Linked DNA regions of Homo sapiens: regions 1 and 2 are each linked to region 3. The links are contacts of gene promoters, found by promoter capture Hi-C in blood cells and fetal thymus (Javierre and others, 2016). All regions are on one chromosome and are shown on one strand. The core of a region is centred on a gene start or on the middle of the fragment in contact, and the rest is flanking DNA. Distances in the headings are between cores, read along the strand shown. Region 1 overlaps AASDHPPT (aminoadipate-semialdehyde dehydrogenase-phosphopantetheinyl transferase). Region 2 overlaps MSANTD4 (Myb/SANT DNA binding domain containing 4 with coiled-coils). Region 3 holds the start of BIRC2 (baculoviral IAP repeat containing 2).

The links. The method cuts DNA at HindIII sites, captures the fragments that hold promoters and counts their contacts. A CHiCAGO score of 5 or more calls a contact.
Region 1: a fragment that was not itself captured here is called in contact with the fragment with the promoter of BIRC2 in region 3 in 2 of 17 cell types (total CD8 T cells and total CD4 T cells); the score reaches 7.8 in total CD8 T cells.
Region 2: a contact is called between a fragment that was not itself captured here and the fragment with the promoter of BIRC2 in region 3, in 2 of 17 cell types (total CD4 T cells and naive CD8 T cells). The highest score is 7.5, in total CD4 T cells.

The regions. Positions count from the first base shown.
Region 1 is chr11:106,079,779-106,082,596 of GRCh38, forward strand. The region is part of intron 2 of AASDHPPT (aminoadipate-semialdehyde dehydrogenase-phosphopantetheinyl transferase); the gene reads left to right. Among named protein-coding and RNA genes, the nearest start is that of AASDHPPT, 3.5 kb to the left of the region's middle. The HindIII fragment of the contact is 857 bases long and covers 1,124-1,980 here.
Region 2 is chr11:106,018,492-106,021,191 of GRCh38, forward strand. MSANTD4 (Myb/SANT DNA binding domain containing 4 with coiled-coils) reads right to left here. Exons shown (of 3, transcript NM_032424.3): 1 at 2,471-2,700. Among named protein-coding and RNA genes, the nearest start is that of MSANTD4, 2.4 kb to the right of the region's middle. The HindIII fragment of the contact is 2,234 bases long and covers 310-2,543 here.
Region 3 is chr11:102,345,764-102,348,531 of GRCh38, forward strand. It overlaps BIRC2 (baculoviral IAP repeat containing 2), which reads left to right and starts at 1,451. Exons shown (of 9, transcript NM_001166.5): 1 at 1,451-1,613. RefSeq lists an enhancer at 2,003-2,072. The HindIII fragment of the contact is 3,484 bases long and covers 1-2,768 here.

The DNA.
Region 1 (2,818 bases), core at 302-2,801, 3.7 Mb after region 3:
ATTAGAGATATTTCAGTTTAGGGAAAATGTGCTTAGTACACAAAGGTAATGGAGAGCATAAATCTGAAAAGGGTATATTTCCATGAATATTTACAGACTTACACATAAATAATAGATTATCCGTTACTGGGGATCCATAACTTTGCCTAGAGGTAAAGTGAAATATTAAGTGAAATTTTTTTTGAATTATACTTCAATTTATTTCACTTAAACATTAACCACAATTTTTCAGTTAATTGTTTGTTTTTTAAAAAAGAATCTGAATAGTAAAGTACATTGTAGTCCTTATGTAGAGATAACGTATACAGTTGACACATGAACAACACAAGTTTGAACTGCATGGGTCTACTCATGTGAATTTTTTTCAGTAGTTGGCCCTCTGTCCCCATAGATTCTGCATCCACAATCAAACGTGTATCAAGATTCAGTATTTGCAGGATATGAAACCTGAGGATGTGGAGGGCTGACTTCATATATGCAGGTTCCATAGGGCCGCATGCGCAGATTTTGGTATCTGAGGAGGGTCCTGGAACCAGTCCCCAGTGGATACCAACGGGCGACTCTTTGTTCTGCATCTAAATACATCTCTTTTTAGCCCATTTATGTAAGTAAAAATGAGGAGCAAGCATTATTAAAATATTTAAGTTGCTTATATATTGCCTTAGAAATTTGTTAGTGGTGGCTTTAAGGACCACTAACATTTGTGGTGAAGTTGAATGTACCCAGGCAATTTAATACATACTAAATACAGGTTCTCTTAACTGCTGTATATTTGTCATCATCACTAACATTTAATGAACACTTAACCACGTGTCATGGCATTTTACATAGTGCTTTAGACATATTCTGTGATTTAATTCTCTCAACTACCCTATGATGCATATACTGCTATTTTTAAAGAAAATAAGTAACAGGCTAAGAAGAAAGCTATTAATAAAAGAACCCACATCTTCCTAATTTCATAGTAAAACTATCTAATCTCCATACTGCCTGCACCATATGTGGTTTGAATATGTGGCTCTCTCAGTCTGTAAGGCTTGTATTAATTTTATCTCTCACTCCCATTTCTGCATAGAGAACTCCTATTTACTTGTTAGATTTCACCTTAACCTTACTTTAGGGAAGCTTTGTGAGCCTTCAATCTAAGCTAGGTTCTTTTGTTGTAGGTTCTCATAAAATATATTTTCCTTATTCCAGTAATGTATCTCAGTTGATTATTCATCAGGATGATTGATTATCTTTTCCTGATACTTAAAAGCTGTGTGAGAGCAAGAACCATGTTAGCCACATCAGAGTTTGATCACTATCACATCTCTTAGTACCTTGCCTAGCATGTAATAGTAAAATATTTGTCAAATGAATGAATAAACACTGTGCTGTTAGAGTATAGGCTTCAGTGTGGTTGTGAATCTCTTCTCCCTTTTGCTTTTATTGTCCTTACCTTGCATTTTCCTACTAGCTACTCTTTCTCTTACCTGCTAATAAACCTTTCCAGTACAACTCTATTCTCAGGTTTGTTCAGAACAAGGCCCTACTAGTGATTTTGGAAACCTTATAACAGATTGTTGATCTGATTCCCTGGATAAGATTCCAGGAATTTTGTTTACCTCCTGAAACTGTATGCTACATTTTGTATGATATGCACATGTGCATTTTTCTTGGGAAAGGATCTGGTATTCAACAGGGACATAGGTGGCTTACTCTAAAAAAATTGCTGCTATAGAGGATTCTTAGCATGGGAATTAGCCCATATATTCTTGTAGCTTTCTGCTGTCATTACAGGAACTTTTTCTAAAATCAGAAATGGAAAGGCCATTGTTTTTTAGAATGCAGTCAGCACAACTACCTGGTAATAATTGGCCCAGTGGGTTGGTATCTGCTTGGAAATGATACTTCTGAGAAACAGATTTTGTTACCAGTTAACTTGATGGGCAGTGTTGGCTATGGTCAATGCTAGATAAACAAGTAATTAATAACTGAAGCTTTTAATAAATGATGGTGTTCTCACTCATAGATGGGAATTGAACAATGAGAACACATGGACACAGGAAGGGGAACATCACACTCTGGGGACTGTTGTGGGTGGGGGAAGGGGGGAGGGATAGCATTAGGAGATACACCTAATGCTAAATGATGAGTTAATGGGTGCAGCACACCAGCATGGCACATGTATACATATGTAACTAACCTGCACATTGTGCACATGTACCCTAGAACTTAAAGTATAATAATAATAATAATAAAAAAGAAAAATAAATGATGGAAAGACAATTGAGCAAAAATTTAAGATTTAGTTTTCCTGTTAATTGTGTTATTAGACCTCCCCCCACCAGTTTTTTTTAGTTGATCTTACTTGACTAATCACAATGTCTAGGCCTTTTCCTTTTCTTTATTTTGTTGTGAAAAAGCTGTTGCTATGTCCAGTAACACAGAAAGGAAGAGAGATTTTCCAATTGTCACTAGTGTTGTTACCATGCTACTGATTCCTGAAGCATCAATGGACACAGCATGATTTCTTAATGAAGATGGGAAGTAGACACTGATTTGCTTCATTGGAGATTCTTTGAATTGCTCTACTTATTGTAGTAAGTGAGGAGATTGAGCAAGGGATTTTTCCTAAGAGTCTTGCTAAATGATGCTAGGCAAAACTTAGGAGAGCAGCAAGGAAAGTACTCTGTTTTGTACTAGGCATTGTTACTAGATTGCCAACTCTAAAGACAGAGTTGGCTTTTGGGGGTTATCATTAGTGCATTGAAAGAGTCAATTCCATTACTCTGTCTTGTCCTATAGGTAAGAATCCACTAGGAACTCAGAGAGT
Region 2 (2,700 bases), core at 177-2,676, 3.7 Mb after region 3:
AGTGCTTCTCATTTGCAGCCAGGATTGAGAACCACCCAACTAGAGAATCAATGTTAAGAGTTTACTTGGTGAAATATGTACAGAAAGGCAAGGCAGAGAGCAAATGGTGTAGCTCCTAAGAAACTTCCTTTAGGAGATTATTAAGAAAAGACCTCATCTGCCACAAAAGACTTAAAATACAGACAAAGCTGGTTTATTTATGGAAAAATATGCCCAAGAGAATGTTATGTCAAATGCAAGAAGAATATGCTAGTTGTAGGACCAATTCACACTCCTATTTGTTGGAAACACATCAAAAGAATGAATGAAAGCTTAGGTGATTTAGATATAAGAAGAAAAGGACTGCTCTCTTGAGAACCAAATTTTCTTCTAAGTAGAATGTCTTTAGACCCCTATCCATATCTCCATTAGGAAAAATTATGACTGAATTAGTAGTATAAATCAGGAACATGCATTATTAGATGAATTAATTAGGACACTGTGTCATTCAATAGGTATATACTGAGTGTTTAAAACCTTTCAAGGCTTTCCATTGCACTTAAGAGGTAAGTTTACTTCCCTTGCTCTTCCTCTCTTCCTATTGTAAACCCTATCTGAACCCTACCTTTACACTTTCCCATCTACCTTTTCTGGTCTTATCCATCACCTCCAGTACCAACTCCCAACCTACTTTCCCAATCCACCTTCCTCATCAAACATGTACTCACATGTAGGTGGCACACAAACACAATACCAGTCATTTTCAAATCCCTCTAAATTCTAGATCAGTGCTGTCCAATAGAAATGTAAGAGCCCTATATGTAATTTTAAATCCCCAAGTAGCCACATTAAAACGGTAAAAAGAAACAGGTAAAAGTGAGTATTTTATTTAACCCAATATATCCAAAATGTTATTTTGAAATATAATCAATATAAACAATTATTGAGATATTTACATTCAATAATGTAAGGCTACTGGCTACCATACTGGAACAGCACAACTCAAGCCATCATGGTCCCTGACCTTGGACTATCACACATATATTTCCCCAGGTCATCTTCCCCATTTCCATGGTGTCTGCCTTTTCGTCAGGCCAATGCCTACTCATCCTTCAGCACTCTTGTTTAAATGTCTTCTGTTCCAGGATCTCTTCACTGTTCCCATTCACCTAAGTCTGATGTCCTCCCTATGTGCTTCCACTATCAGCTTTATTACACCACTGATTTACATTAGGAGCAATAAGAGATCAGATACGAATATATTATTCCTGCTATCAAATAATTTGCAACTTAGTAAAACACAGATGCATAAAAAAAGTACATAAACAAATTGTAATGAAGTCTGTAACCTGAAGGTTGTGAATACAGACTACCTAAGGCTGTATGCCAATTCCACCACTTAACTAGCTCTGTGATCTCCAGCGAATTACTTAACCTCTTAAACTTGTTTCTTCATCTATAAATGGGAATAATAGACTAATACTCGTGATGTTTTGAAGATTAAAAGAGATAAACCGATTAAGAAGTTTATCATGCCTAAGACATAGTAAGCCCACAAATGTCAGCTATTATCCATTGCCCAGTACAGTATCTGAATGTAATTAACAAATATTTCTTCACTGGATGAATAATGCAAATATACAAAAACTACAATAAAGAAATACTAACAAAATACTCTGGATATTCATAAGAAAGACAAATCTTTGATGGGATCAAGGAATGTTTTGAGTCAGAATCAGCATTTGATTTGGGTCTTATAAAACAGACTAATGAGGGACAGAAATAAAAGAAAGAAGTATCAGGAATTAAAGCTGGAAAATTAGGATAGTGCCAAGCAGCAAATCTTACTAAGCGAATTCTGGCTTAATAAGACTATTATTTGCTAAAAATGAACTGAAAGAGACAAATATAACTGTGAAAGTTTTTTGAAATTCAAGCAGGCTACCATTAATATGGAAGAACTGTTACTGTAGTAACATATAAATATATAACCAATATAAGTATATAATAAAAATGATTGAAGTTGTCGAGAGTCCAAATTTATGCAGATATCCACCGTAAGATTTTGCTCTTAGAATCTGAGATCAATTTAGAAATCGCATTGTTGTAAATGTATTGGTACATGGTAGAAATAGCAGTCCTTTTGAAGTACCACTGAGTCAATATATTTTTAAAGTTTGACAGCAGCTGTTGCTATTTGCAGGGCCTATTTTTGACCAACAATTCCTAACTCCATATCTCTAACTTACAAAGTGGTATCCCGTTGTCCTGACTGATCTATTCTGAACTGATGAACTATTTCATTTAATCAAATGGGCTTTAATACATTTTTAACCTGACTGAAATTGATATTGGGATGCACCTTAGATACCCAGTCTTGGCTTAATTGTGTGAAAATCTTCTTCTAAAACCTTGATATTTTCTGATTAAGTGCAAGAAAGTGCCAGCATTGATGCATCTTGAGTTGTTGAAGTTCTGTAGATATGCTTACCTGGATAAAAGCCATTTCCAGAAATGTTTGTCTTCCTGTCCTCTCCTTTATATGCCGGTATCCAAGTAACAGAAGCTTGGGTTTTCTACCATCCATTCATTCCCCAATAATTTCCTCAAAAAATACTTACTGAGCTCCTACTGTGTGAAAGGCACTATTTTTGGTGCTGGGGATATAACACCTCATAAAATGTGAAAATATGTCATTTTAGATGTCAAACACTATCCCTT
Region 3 (2,768 bases), core at 201-2,700:
CTGAAAAAGAGAAATAATCTTGAGTTCAGAATGAACAATTCTTGCTATATATATTTTCCCACATGTGTTAGGAATGTTCTGTAAACCTTCCGAGAAATAGTGACTTGAACTAAATACTAAACTACTACCAAGCCCCAGGTGCATTTTTGGAAGTTTTTAGTCATTGGGAGCCATGGCATTTCTTTTCTCTGTATTACAAACTGTTACACTCACTTTCTTTGACTATTAACATTGGAACAGTAGACCTCCTGTTCTGTGACTGACTGGCAGGCAGAAATGACACAGACAGGAAATGGGAAATGGTTCAGGGTCTTGGAATTCCCCCGGCTCCCTAATTAAGTGGCTTGCTATTTGGAAGTTTTTTAAATATTTGCCCCTTGGAGTTCCCCAGAGAGAAGCAAGCATCGGATTCAACGGGCAAAGAGCGTCAACTTCAAAAGTCGTTCGTTGGTTGTCATACCACAAACATTTACTGCACGACACTGTGTCTATGGCACTATTGGGGGAGTATGGCGGGGGGATACAAAAGGTCCATGACTAGCAAAAGCCAAGGGTTTTTATTTACAAATTTTCTATTACCTAAGCATTAAAAAAAATTGGGCTCCTCTCTGGTTTATGTACAATTATATGTGCATGTACACCAATACACAGGCAGACGTATATATTTCATTTTATTGAAACATTCAGAAAATACTGGGAGTGAAGCCTGACTTGCAATACAGTTCTCTTTGCTGGCAATGAGCATCTGAAATAATGACACTTTTTTCTTTAGTGCATATGAACTGTTTGTCTCCAGAACAGAAAACCAAAAGTTTAAAAACAAGATACTCCCGTTGACATCAAGTCTTCAGAATTATTCATCTGATGCTTCCTAGTTTCCAAAGTTTCGCTTTTTTCGATTTGCACAGGCAGCTGTTGAACGCTGATGCTACACAAACGGTTACAATTGTTTACTTAAGCAAAAAATGCCACCAGACTGACTCCATCCTCAAAATGCAGTCATCTGGACGGGGGGAGGCATCACACTTGGGGAGCCTTGCCAGGGGCCAGATCATAACCCTGAGGTGACACAGGGTAGGACGCGCAAAACCACCGGCGCCAGGGCGTTTCCGCAGGGTTTCCCAAAACTCAAACGCAGCGGCTCACGGTTTGCCACGTCCCCCAGGAGAATGGTAGACACAGAGAGGAAATGTGGAGAGGGCACAAACCGCAAGGTGAAGAAAACGAACAAACACCGAGTTGATACGGATAGTCCCCGTTCCCCTGAGGGCCGACCCCGTGACTCCCGATGAGCGTCCAGTTGCGCCGGGCATCCTGGCCTCCCAGCGTCTTTCCCGGAGGTTCATCGCCGCACGGCGGAAAGCGCTCTCGGTTCCGCTTTCCGGCCCCAGCCTCCCGGGCGCCCTCGCGCGGCGGCTAACGCTGGTCCTCGGCCGGGCGCGCTGACGTCATCGTGCGTCAGAGTGAGCCCGGATGGGGCGGCGGGCTTCGGGAGCGCCCGGGCTGATCCGAGCCGAGCGGGCCGTATCTCCTTGTCGGCGCCGCTGATTCCCGGCTCTGCGGAGGCCTCTAGGCAGCCGCGCAGCTTCCGTGTTTGCTGCGCCCGCACTGCGGTGAGTGCTGCTCCTTCCGGGCTCGGGCGGCGTGGGGCGGGTGGGGACGCGAGGGCCCGCGGGGGCCCACTTCCCTGATGTGGCGGCGAACGAGGAAGGACGGGGCCTGAGGCCCTTCGGCCAAGGGTCGAGGGTCGCCGGGGGCTCTCTGCTTTCTACTCTCGCCAAGGTTTTATTGGATTCGGAAGCCCCAACTTCGAGACTTGCAGTCAAAGCGATTTTTAAAATGACTTGTTTTCAAGCCTCTGGCCGCCGCCCACTCTTCTGGCCCTTGGACTTTGACCAAGATGTTTTCTCGCAGTTTTTGCAAGGTTTTAAACTTAGCCCTCGGCGTTCTTTTAATGTAATACATTGAAACGAAGATATTTCGGTGGCGGCGATATTTCATATTTCATAGTTGCCACTGCGCTCTGTCATTCCAGTAGTCGTCTGTTGTGTATTGTGAGAAGCAACTCTGGGAAATTATTGGGTAAATCCCATAGTTTCTATTCTTTTCCCTTCCATCCTATCCCCTGCCCAGCTGCAATTTGCGTAAAGAGAATGCAGCAGTGCGGTGCACGTAGATAAAAATCTTTCATTTAAAGATAGGATATAAGACCGGGTGTAATTAAAGCAATCATGCCAGTGGTCGTAGTGCCGGAGCCACTGTTTCACAGGCCACTGTGTTAGGTTTTGTTTTCGAGTTGCTTTCTGTGGTCGTTGCTTTGAAATTGTAAGGGAATGGCAGAGTTTAAGAGTTTATATTAATGAACTCGTGGTGCATTTTACTGCAGTTTTCCTAGTCGTGGAGAGACTTGATATTACAAACTAACGTTGCTGTCTTAATTCCTGCTGTACTGCTGCTGACAGGGTGTAGTGGAGTGTCTGTCTGTCTTTTTAACCAATGTGCCTTTGCCTCCAGCAGAGTGCCAGAGTTACCTTTAGGCCAGAAAAGGGGAGGAGAGCAAGGACAAAATGTTTCCTGTGTGAAAATTTCCATCTGTCTCTGAAGTTGTGCGTTTTAAAGACACGTATAGTTAGTGCTATGGGGAGTATGTTGCATTTACTTATTTTAATTAATAGCTTTTTCATTTAGAAAGTTGTGACAAATTGCTGGAATTAAGATGTATTATCTAAAGTGTGAATTATTCTTAGACTTTACTGAATAAATTGAAG